2 separate regions of the Homo sapiens genome follow, and region 2 is linked to region 1. The links are contacts of gene promoters, found by promoter capture Hi-C in blood cells and fetal thymus (Javierre and others, 2016). All regions are on one chromosome and are shown on one strand. The core of a region is centred on a gene start or on the middle of the fragment in contact, and the rest is flanking DNA. Distances in the headings are between cores, read along the strand shown.

Region 1 (5,703 bases), core at 1,322-3,821:
GTAAGTCCAGGGCTGGGTTCAGAACACAGTGTGTGAAACAGTCATAACATGCTTTATTATCCTTGCTGGTCTCAGGTAACAGGGAATCCAGTCCCTGGGCTGAAGAGGGCAATTCCATCTTTTTTTTTTTTTCTTTTTAATTTAAGTTCCGGGATACATGTGCAGAATGTTCAGGTTCGTTGCTTAGTTACACATTTGCCATGGTGGTTTGCTGCCGCTATTGACCCGTCATCTGGGTTTTAAGCCCTGCATGCATTAGGTATCTTTCCTAATGCTGTCCTTCCCCGTGCCCACCAACCCCTGACAGGCCCGGGTGTGTATTGTTCCCCATGTTCTCACTCATAAGTGGGAGGTGAACAATGAGAACTCCCATCATTTTAACCTGTATTGTGATGAAATGCATTTAGCCTCCAATGCTCATTATCACCAATGATGTGAATCACCATTGGCCAGGATGGAATGTTTATACGTTACCCAAAAGTTCTGAGATGTGGATGTGGCTATGCATGTTATATGTTAGTGTGTAATGTAAAAGGAAAGAAACTATTGCTTAATTAACATTTGACTTTTTAAATAACTATTGCCTATTTAATATTTCTGCTTTTTCTCAACTGATAGTAACATTGTCTATAAAGTATTTTAAGCTGATTGAGTGAACTACATTGTCTCAGCTCCATCCTGTTCACCCTCTTCCCAGTGAGTGAAGATGTTCATGGTTTTATTCTTACATTTACTTGTTAGGTGACTTTTAGCAAATGAATGAGACTTTCTGACTCTCCATTTATACTCCTGAAAATAGAGTAGTAAAACATACCATAGGAATTTTAATGTATGAAATTTAAAGGAAGAAATGTGAAAACTCTGAGTATAAATCATGGAATATATTAGATCCACTATAAATGTTAATTTCATTTCTTTCTATTGGACCCTGAAAATATGCTCTGAAACGCACAAAATTATTCAATTATTGGTTTCACAGAACTGATTTTATTAAAAAGTATATGTTGACAAGACTTTACAATGAGCTAAATCCAATATAATGCATTTGAGGTCTGTTATAAATACCACAACACATGTATTGCTTTATAAAGAAAAATCTTAAGGAATGGATAGGTGGAGTTTTTCTAACAAGAGCTCAGATTATAGAATTTGATACACTCAAAATTAATACATAGCATTGTTTTAAGAATCCTCTTATAACAAGATCACTTAATTATATTCGATTGATTTGTCTTTTTTTCTTAATTCCTTATAAATTTATTCAGTTACTTTGTTGAAACTGAGGCCTATCAATAATTTTCTTAAAATAATATTAGGAAAAATGTTATGTTTATGAATCATCTTACAATTCCATTAGTTACTTTCAAGAAGATTACTTTTTGTTTTTGAACACTGCTATTACAAAAATAAGCCATTTATTCTAATAGTCTTTTTTTCGGACAAATGCAGTATTAGTCATGGAGTTAATTTTCCACAAGTCTCACTGCTAAAATGTGATATAGTTATTTTTAAAGACAAAAATACAATGTGACAACTTATATTAAAATATATTGGTGTAAAAGTTCTTATAAACATGAGGAAATGAACATTTTAGAAAAAAATCTCATAAATATATCTGATAAAATCACAAAATGAAATAGACAAGGATTTAAGTACATCTCTCATTTGCTGAAACCATGCATCAGGAGCTGATAATGAAAGATATATCCAGCCAGGCCTTTGGGAGATTATAACTTTGAATAACTTTTAACTTTGAAAAAAAATTACTAGCATGCAATGAAAGATTCTTGCCTTGTGATACTTTTAGTATAAATTTATTTTTTTCTCTGTTCTTTTATGTTTTTTGGCATTAAGCTATAGAATGCTCTCCCCAAGTAAGGTTTTGGGTGAATTCCTAAACGAAATCCACAAAATAAAAAACAGGCAAGACTTTGCTGATTGGTTCCAGACCTGAATAACATAAAATGAGTCTCCTTAGCATTAGAAGTAAACTTGAAATGTTGATATTTATCATGTGTATCCAAGTGTATATGAAGCATATTTTATATTTTTAAAACTAATGTAAGCTACCCTCATGGCCAAAAAATTAAGTTAGTCCAAGTAAATCAATATTGATTTCAAAAGTGATAGGCAAAGGGATTCAATTCCTCTGAGTCTGTTCATTTGCGTTTTCCTGAAATTATTTGCCCTGCTTATGATTTCTGAGATCTTTAGATAAACATGATAGTTGGCTGAGCACATTGCACTTAATTGTTGCCACAGCCACAGATGTAAAGAGGCTTGTAAGAAAAATGTTCTCACAGTGAGCTTCCTTATTTGAAGCAGGACTCAATTCTTGGTTAAAAGCTATGGTATTTGAGCTAGTTAAACACATATCTCTCTCCCATTCCATAGGGAATGAGCTGGGCTGTCCTTTCTCCCCACGTTCACCTGCACTTCGTTAGAGAGCAGTGTTCACATGCCACACCACAAGATCCCCACAATGACATAACTCCATTCAGAGACTGGCGTGACTGGGCTGGGTCTCCCCACCCCCCTTCAGCTCTTGTATCACTCAGAATCTGGCAGCCAGTTCCGTCCTGACAGAGTTCACAGCATATATTGGTGGATTCTTGTCCATAGTGCATCTGCTTTAAGAATTAACGAAAGCAGTGTCAAGACAGTAAGGTAAGTGCTGTTTTAACTATTGCACTGGGGATGTTAACTGTTTGGGACAGCGTTTTTTGTAACAGGAACAGGAAAAATTCCAGAGCAATTTTGCCAATTGCTATTCAACAGCAAATCCACAGTTCTGAGCATTTAGTTTCACATTTTGTTAATATGTTTTCCATGATTTATAGATTTGAGATTTTATACAGTATATGCTGTATTGCTTGGCAAGAGAAGTTATAAAAAGTTTCAAGGTTAGAATGAGAAAATAGTTAAAGTAGACACAGTGAAAAAATATAGAAATTAATATGTTTGTTATGTATGCTAGTTAGTTATATATGTTAGTATTGGACCCTAATACTGGAGCAAAGAAAAGTCATTTTAATCAGCATTCAAAATATCTTTTAATAAGCATATTGTGACAATTTGTTATAATTTACAATAAACGTTCTATGTTATAAAACATGAGCTAAAAGATTTAGGAACTCTTATGGATTATTTATTTCTGTTTTGTTAATTTAAAAAATTTGTTTCTTGGATATATGCCTTAAGGAACGAGTTTTTTAAAAAGTTCTGGGAAATGATTTCGTTTTTGAAAACAGCATTTTCTCTATAGCCACAGGTATTTGAAAAAACTGAGGGTAGTACAGTGTGATTTTGCCTCATAGTGGAGTCATTATATGGTTGCAAACTCTCATTCAATTCAGCATCCTTGTTTTTACTTTGCCAAAAAATATGGAAGCATTTTTCATTACTATTTAATACTCACATTATAGTTGCCATATTTTGGTGTATAGTAAATTTAAAATAGCTTATTAATAAAGCAAGACAAATCTTTACAGTATTTACATTCTATAACTTAAAATAACTCTGGGAATATGTCATCACGTTCTTTTTAGTGCTATGCAATTATTATTATGGCCAAGTTCTGTCAGCAAAATTAAATGCCCCCATTAAAATCTTAGAGAGTAATTTACTGAGAATCTGGCTACATGTTACCTTATGTCAGCAATCAAAGTATTTCTAAAAGCTGTTTTATAACGTTCCATCTGATCTGAAATAAAGTGCCTTACAATTTCAAATTAAAACAAATAAAAGACGTTTTCAGTTTCTAACCCCAAAGATCCTGCTTATCCCAAACTACTTTGATCCAAAAGCTTGTAATCATACTTTCATAGAAAGATATAATATTCTCAGTTATCTATTAGAATGTAGATCTTTCGTCACATTAATGATTTATCTCCCAGGGCTACCAACTTTGCCTCAGCCACAACTGTTCACTCTATAAAAGTCTAACTCTTATATTCCAATTTTCCCATATCTAAATTGCTGCACCTAAGACATTGAAATGTACTTTTTTGAGCCTCACCTTAGAAACATGTTCCTATGAGAAGATAACTGTTACACATTATTTCAAATTCATATTCTCAATTGAATAATTTACTAGATAGTTCTAACACCAGTATTAAATCCAAACTTTAAAAACATCACACCTCTCTCCCACCTCCATTCTGTGAGGCCACTAAAAGCCAGATATGCAAACCATGGCATCTTCGATTTTGGCATGAAGAAAGTAGAGAACTTGTGAGTAATTGAGAGAGACTATAACTCTAATTGAAAACTTGGAAAATACTATCTTTCTCTACCTGTTGAATCTCTTTCCAGAAAGAGAAACCTTCAGAATGTGTGACATTTTCCTGATAAACATTAGCAATTATTAAATATTACTAATATTTTGTTTAGTAAATAGCTAATTTATGAAATATTAGTTCCAGAACACAGTTTTGCAATGTGCTTTAAAAAGTGTAGAATGTTAAGCACAACATGAACTAGTATGCATGCACACCAGCACCAAGAATTCTGTTCTCCTTCCTCAGAACCAACAGTAACCAGACACTTTTAAAGGAATGTGCCTTCCATTTCCCTCCCACATACAAGCAAAACCTCAGGTTGCCCATATTCCCGTAAGGATCTTCTTCATGAGTCATTTTAATGATGTCGAATGGTAGGGTAGAGTATACAGTTAAAAACTGTCTTCTCATTCTCTTTTTTTGAGAGATGATCTGAAGCAGTAGTCTAATTCGGTGGTCAATGAACACCACCCAGAAACCTCTTACAGGAAGGCATTTCATTAAGGAAGAGCCTGGAGATTGACTGGAACAATTAGGCTGGGCTCGCCCAGAAGGGGGCGCACGTGTACGCAATCTAACCTGAAAGCTGCTCACTACATAGTTGTAAACATACACCTTTGTCCTCATACCTAAATAAAAATTTAAAAGACGCTGTTAGATGCACTAAAAATAGCTATAAAATAACAAAATGCACATTTTCTAATGAATTTAATGTTGCAAATTGAATGTCTTTTTCTTGAAAGTATATATTTTTTTAATTAATAAATGTTTCATCTTTATTTAGGATTCAAACCATTTGCCAAAAATGAGTCTAAGTGCATTTACTCTCTTCCTGGCATTGATTGGTGGTACCAGTGGCCAGTACTATGATTATGATTTTCCCCTATCAATTTATGGGCAATCATCACCAAACTGTGCACCAGAATGTAACTGCCCTGAAAGCTACCCAAGTGCCATGTACTGTGATGAGCTGAAATTGAAAAGTGTACCAATGGTGCCTCCTGGAATCAAGTATCTTTACCTTAGGAATAACCAGATTGACCATATTGATGAAAAGGCCTTTGAGAATGTAACTGATCTGCAGTGGCTCATTCTAGATCACAACCTTCTAGAAAACTCCAAGATAAAAGGGAGAGTTTTCTCTAAATTGAAACAACTGAAGAAGCTGCATATAAACCACAACAACCTGACAGAGTCTGTGGGCCCACTTCCCAAATCTCTGGAGGATCTGCAGCTTACTCATAACAAGATCACAAAGCTGGGCTCTTTTGAAGGATTGGTAAACCTGACCTTCATCCATCTCCAGCACAATCGGCTGAAAGAGGATGCTGTTTCAGCTGCTTTTAAAGGTCTTAAATCACTCGAATACCTTGACTTGAGCTTCAATCAGATAGCCAGACTGCCTTCTGGTCTCCCTGTCTCT
Region 2 (5,527 bases), core at 507-3,006, 160 kb after region 1:
GGATATAGTCTTTATCCTAAGTTCTGAGGAGCCATAAAAATAGTTTTCCAGAATGGATTTTTTTTTTTAGATAAAAAGATTATCTACCTTTTGGGGGTGGAATATCTTATTTTGTTTTTGAATTTGTCTTTGTTATAAAGAAGAGTAAAACAAAGATGTGTAAGTGTGAGTCTGTGTGAGCTAGTTTCTGATGTCTAAACAGCAATTACCTATGGAGAATACATCATTCAAAGTAATAGCTTTTGTTCAAACATTTTTAGGAAGTAATAATACATTTCTTCCTGGACAGTTGATAAAAGTTCCATCCATAGCATATTTCCAGAATATCCCTAGATGATGAATTTAAACATGCCTTCTCAGAAATTAAATCTTTTGACTTTGAACCACAAGTTAGCATTTATTTGTTGAAGAGAAGAATGTGTGGTGATGTCTTACCTGAATGTTGGTTGTTACTGATATATTACAATTTTCAAGGTGATAAGCTTGAGCTATTAAATAATAAAAAGTATTAAAGTACCTTGCCTCTCATTTCTCATTATTGAAATATCACAAATCCATGCAGCAATGCTTCAGTGGCCAAAAGGATGAATAGAAGAAAGGGGGAAAAAACTTAGGAATTTTAAAATTACACCAAACATTCCAAATTGCAGTGGTGAATAACCAAAACTCTAAGATATCATTACTTTCTACAAGATGCAATTTCTGAATGACCTATAAAATTAAAAGTAGCCATCCCTATGTGTTTTACTGTTCTAATATATATAAGTAGAGGGAAATCAAGAATCCAGCTCCTGAAGCTAGGTAATAAATCCATGCAAGTCATAGCCCATAAATACTTTACTGATGACACTTAATCAAAAGGTCAAAGTTAAGTATGTTCTCACTGGAGAAGCCTTTTTTCATTTAGGATTGAATTTATTTACAATCCCATCTGGACATTTCTCTATTTCTTCCTGCAAAATATTTTAAATTTAAGAATTCACCACATATTAATTGCCTTCATATGCAAAGATGTTATTCACTAGTTATTTTAAGGGATGTAAACATGTGCAATGCCTCAGGAGTCTACATTCTTGTGCATGAACCATTATTCAGCAAATATTGAACTACTGGGGGCCAAGCACTGTGAACAGTGATAAGAATACAATGGTGAATAAGCAAAACCCCATTCTGACATTGTTATTGTTTAGTAGAAAAGTCAGACATTAAATGAGTTAGATGGATTGCTCATTGCAAGTGGTCTGAAGGAAATGTACCACTATAAAAACATAGATCACTAGAGAACCCAGGAGTAAGGCTGAGGATGTTTATCGTGGGCAGAGGGACCCCTAAGTCTAAAGGCCAAGAGCTGAGAGGAGCTTGATGCCTTTGAGGAACTGAGGATAGAAAGACCAGCATGTCTGGAAGCAACGGCCAATGACAAGTGAGAGAAGTATGCAGAATCCATATTATCTATTCTATTGACTTTTATGCCATCCATATCTTCTAGAATAGACACCAGCAAAAATTAATGAGAGGAGAAAACTATTAGTCATTGATGATTCTCTACCTGACCTTCTTCTTTTTTTTTTTTTTAACTAGCCAGATACTGTGATGCTTGCTTTACTAATCCTGATGGCTAATATGAAATAATTAACCCATGTTAGGGGTTGAAGGGATTGGTCATCCCGGGACACCCACCATTCTAACCAACCACTATCATGTAATGAGGGGGATCTTAGGGTTTCTTGCTCAGCATGATTGGAGCACCATAGTTCTCAACTCCCATGGAGAGCCTCTTGCACAGTTTTAGTTTTAGAGGTATGTGTACACATGAAGAGAAAATACAATTTTCCAAAATAAATTCATTATTATTAAAATTATTTCAAACTTTATTGGGTGAGCACAGTGAGGATGAGGTGCCAGTTAGGCATTTCTTTCAAGAATGGAGCTATTCTGCCAGTTGTCAGAAAAATAACGTTATAAATCATAAAACATGATTATAGGGCCTGGACTTGATAAGCGTTGTTGCTGTCTATTCTGAGGTTTTTTTTCTCATGTGGAGATTCTGGCATTTTCATCCTCTAGAGACTGACAGCATTTCTTGATTTGTCTTCATTACTTTGTCTCCACAGTAACCTCGAGGAATTTTATTTGATGTGAAAATATTAGCCCTCTAAAGATGGTAAATACACTTGACATCTAGAGATCAACTCTGAACTCTGAGTATGATTTTATAAAATTGTAGAACATCCGTATATGAGGAAGACAGTATTTGTAACATATTTAGTTCTATTAAAATAAATGTAGAGGTGAAATGACTAATCTCCTCCAGTTAACACAAACCTACAGATCTGGGAAATAAATGATACATCTCCTATAGGTGACCTTGGGTTAAGGGAGTCGATAAGACTAAAAAAAGTCCTTAAATTACAGGTTTTTTTAGCAGCGTAATAAAATGATACATGCAGCCATGTTTTGTATTCAATAAGGTTTATGTTAATGTAAGACAACCGAAAATTACTCAATGTTGTCATATCACCTTGGCCTTGATTATCTATATATTAAAATCAAAATCAGAATGTGGCTATCTTAGCTGTTTCAGTAGCTAAGTAGCATTTTTCTTTATTTAGTTTTAGTTAATTAGTGGAATACAGTCCAATGTCAAGGTCGGCTAATGGAAGAGAAGATTTGGATGTGGCATGGGAAGGCCTGGATGTGTGTTGTCCTGCTGCCTAAGTGACCTGTGATGGTGGCCACTTGCCTTGGGTTTCTCTTTCCTCAGTGTTAGTGATTATACTTTATCACTTAGGTATATTGTGAAGACAAAATACTCAATATTTAAGAAGAATTGTATTATAACTGCAAAACACTGTTGACCATTATATGTTAAACTACATTTTATAAAGTTATCTCACATAATTTCTGAACATTAGTTCAGTCTAAATTTATTAGCAAGACCCAGAAAATCTTATAGCAATTCTATTGGGCTGACATATCAGATATTTCAGTTGTTATTAATACCACAGAACTAAGTATGAACAAGCTTGTCCTTGAAATGTAGTTTTGGCTTCTGGTAAAATAGTGTGTAAATGGACACTTCACATTGTCTACTGCCATGATTTTTAAAGTGTGGTCTATGAACCAGCAGCACTGACACCCAGGTGTTAGATCCATTGCAGAAGCCTCATGGGAATTTAATGATTAAGACTATGGTTTATGCATTCAAAACTATCATTTATTGCTTGTGTGACCTCAGGGTTGTTACTGAAATTTTGACATCTCATTTTCCTCATCTATAGTACCTACCTCATGGATGAAATGAGATTGTAAAGACTAAGTGAGATAATAGTTACCAAGCACTCAGAACAGTGGCATTCAATACTTCCTAGTTACAATAAGTATTCAGTAAATACACAAATGAGGTCATAGACATGTTATGTGGTGTCTAAAAGTTACTTGTTAGTGATGCGAGCAACTATAAGTGTAAAATCTCCCAAAATAACAAAATGATTAATTAACTCTGCCCTATTTCCCCTAGTGTAACTCTAATCAGATACATTACCTTTGAGCTGCAGATACCATTATGCAGACTATATGAGAACCAGTTAAATCTCTAGAGTTGAACTCTTTCCCAAGATAATATTCTCTGTCCTTTATCTCCCCTCTGCCCCTGCCCTTGCCCCAGGTCAATGATGTTTCCTTTTACGGTTGACATTAATGCTCTAATGGTTGGTGCTAAGAATTACCCGTCCTTTTCCATAGAAGCAATGGATAGTTGAATGCATATTTTCAAAATCAAAATCAATGCAACTGTAATACTTGAAAAACAAATTTGTTTGTAGTGGGTTAATAGTTTATATAAGTGATGTGACGACAATCTAACACAGGAATATTTTATGTGTACGTATATCAATATACACATTTGGTGGGAACAAATGCCTGAGTGGGATAAATTGTTATAAATGTTGCTTTGTTGCTTCTCATCTATAATTAAAGTAAAATCAAAATTTTACTTTAGAAAAATATTCGTAAGAATTTATAGGTAACTTTATAAGTGTATAAGATAACTGGATATCATTCCTAATATTACCACTTTATTGAAGGTTCTGTTTTATGCTACACTTAAAATTAAGCTCATTGTAGATTAAGATACAGTTACAGATATATGAAAATGCCAAACAATATTTAATGCCTGTTGTAAGTCACTTATGTAGAACAGTTAAACTATCAAAATGTAGACGTTAGATTTCAAAACACATTTGAATACATGCAAGGTGGTTAATATACATTATCACATTTAAACATATAACTGTCCTATGAACTAATGCTTTATCTCCCTTTTTATAGATAAAATACCTGAAAATCAAAGGAAATTGTTTCGAGACCCAAGTCCTCAATTTTGTTAAAAGCTGTAGGTACACTGTGTTACTTGAACATTCTGTTATTTTATTTCAAACAACCTATCTAGAAACAAAACTTCCTTTAATAAATTTGACCTGAGTCCAAGGAGGGTAGGCACCTAGAGAGGAGATACTTAAATCCCTGTTTCAATTATAATTCTTATGCTAGCGCACACAAATGTCAAGAGTGTGATATGCAAGGTGTAATTCACCCTTGCCAGGCCACTGGGCTGGAATCAGTCATCCTAGAGTATAAGTGCTTTTTGTGGTCAGGAGGAATTAGAAGAGAGTTATTTGGAGGATCAAGACACTGAAGAATATACTGCTTGAAAGGTGCTTGTATTGGTTCGAGCCCAGAGAGTGGGACCAACAAACAATACAAGGCGGTGTGGAGCAACATGCTGTTTTAACGAACGCCTGGCTGCAGGCGGGCTGAGGCCTAAGATGGCGTCAGCCCCAAGTGAGGACAGGACAGGGGTTTTATAGTCCTCTGTAAACAGGAAGTGTCCCAGTCTGACATGACTGCTACGTAGTACACGATGGCCTCTTTCTCTATCTTCAGGGGTACATGTCTTCCGGCCAGGGTAGGTGTCTTCTGGCCAGGTAGATGTCTTCCGGGCAGCTCTCGTCCTGCTTTTGCTATCTTGCTGATGCACGCTGCTGGCGCAAGTGGTCTTGCGTCTTGGGACTGGGCCTCAGAAGAGAGGAGTTATTCATTCCCTTAAGCTTTCAGGCCCTGCGAGAATCTTTTACTGCTCTACCTATATATTGCTGCATGGTAATATGATCTAGTAGTTCTACTACAAGGGGCAGGGGGAGAGGCAGGGAGGGAGTGTTGGAGACAAATGTATTCCTGGAACAAACTACATTTAAATACTTCTCTGGCATTGCCTTAAATCAAGTATACTTTCATTTCAAGATAAATCCAGTCAAGATGGGTATAACAAGTGCAGAATTTAACTTTTAGATGTCAACCATTTTAGAAATCCGCTTACATATAAATACTTGTATAAATAGAGGTACATAGCAGAGTTTCTCTAACAGAAAAATCCTATATTCAGAAGGATTCCCAAGGGGAGTGACTGACAATTGCCCTCCTTGAATAATGGGCAGCTATAGGATACTACATAATAGAGCTAAAATGT

The links. The method cuts DNA at HindIII sites, captures the fragments that hold promoters and counts their contacts. A CHiCAGO score of 5 or more calls a contact.
Region 2: a contact is called between a fragment that was not itself captured here and the fragment with the promoter of LUM in region 1, in 1 of 17 cell types (M2 macrophages). The highest score is 5.2, in M2 macrophages.

What each region holds. Positions count from the first base shown.
Region 1 is chr12:91,108,362-91,114,064 of GRCh38, reverse strand. It overlaps LUM (lumican), which reads left to right and starts at 2,571. Exons shown (of 3, transcript NM_002345.4): 1 at 2,571-2,667; 2 at 5,065-5,703. The coding sequence starts at 5,086. The HindIII fragment of the contact is 5,015 bases long and covers 1-3,808 here.
Region 2 is chr12:90,947,204-90,952,730 of GRCh38, reverse strand. CCER1 (coiled-coil glutamate rich protein 1) reads left to right here. Exons shown (of 1, transcript NM_152638.4): 1 at 1-516. It overlaps LINC00615 (long intergenic non-protein coding RNA 615), which reads right to left. Exons shown (of 5, transcript NR_038868.1): 5 at 4,062-5,076. Among named protein-coding and RNA genes, the nearest start is that of CCER1, 5.2 kb to the left of the region's middle. The HindIII fragment of the contact is 2,543 bases long and covers 485-3,027 here.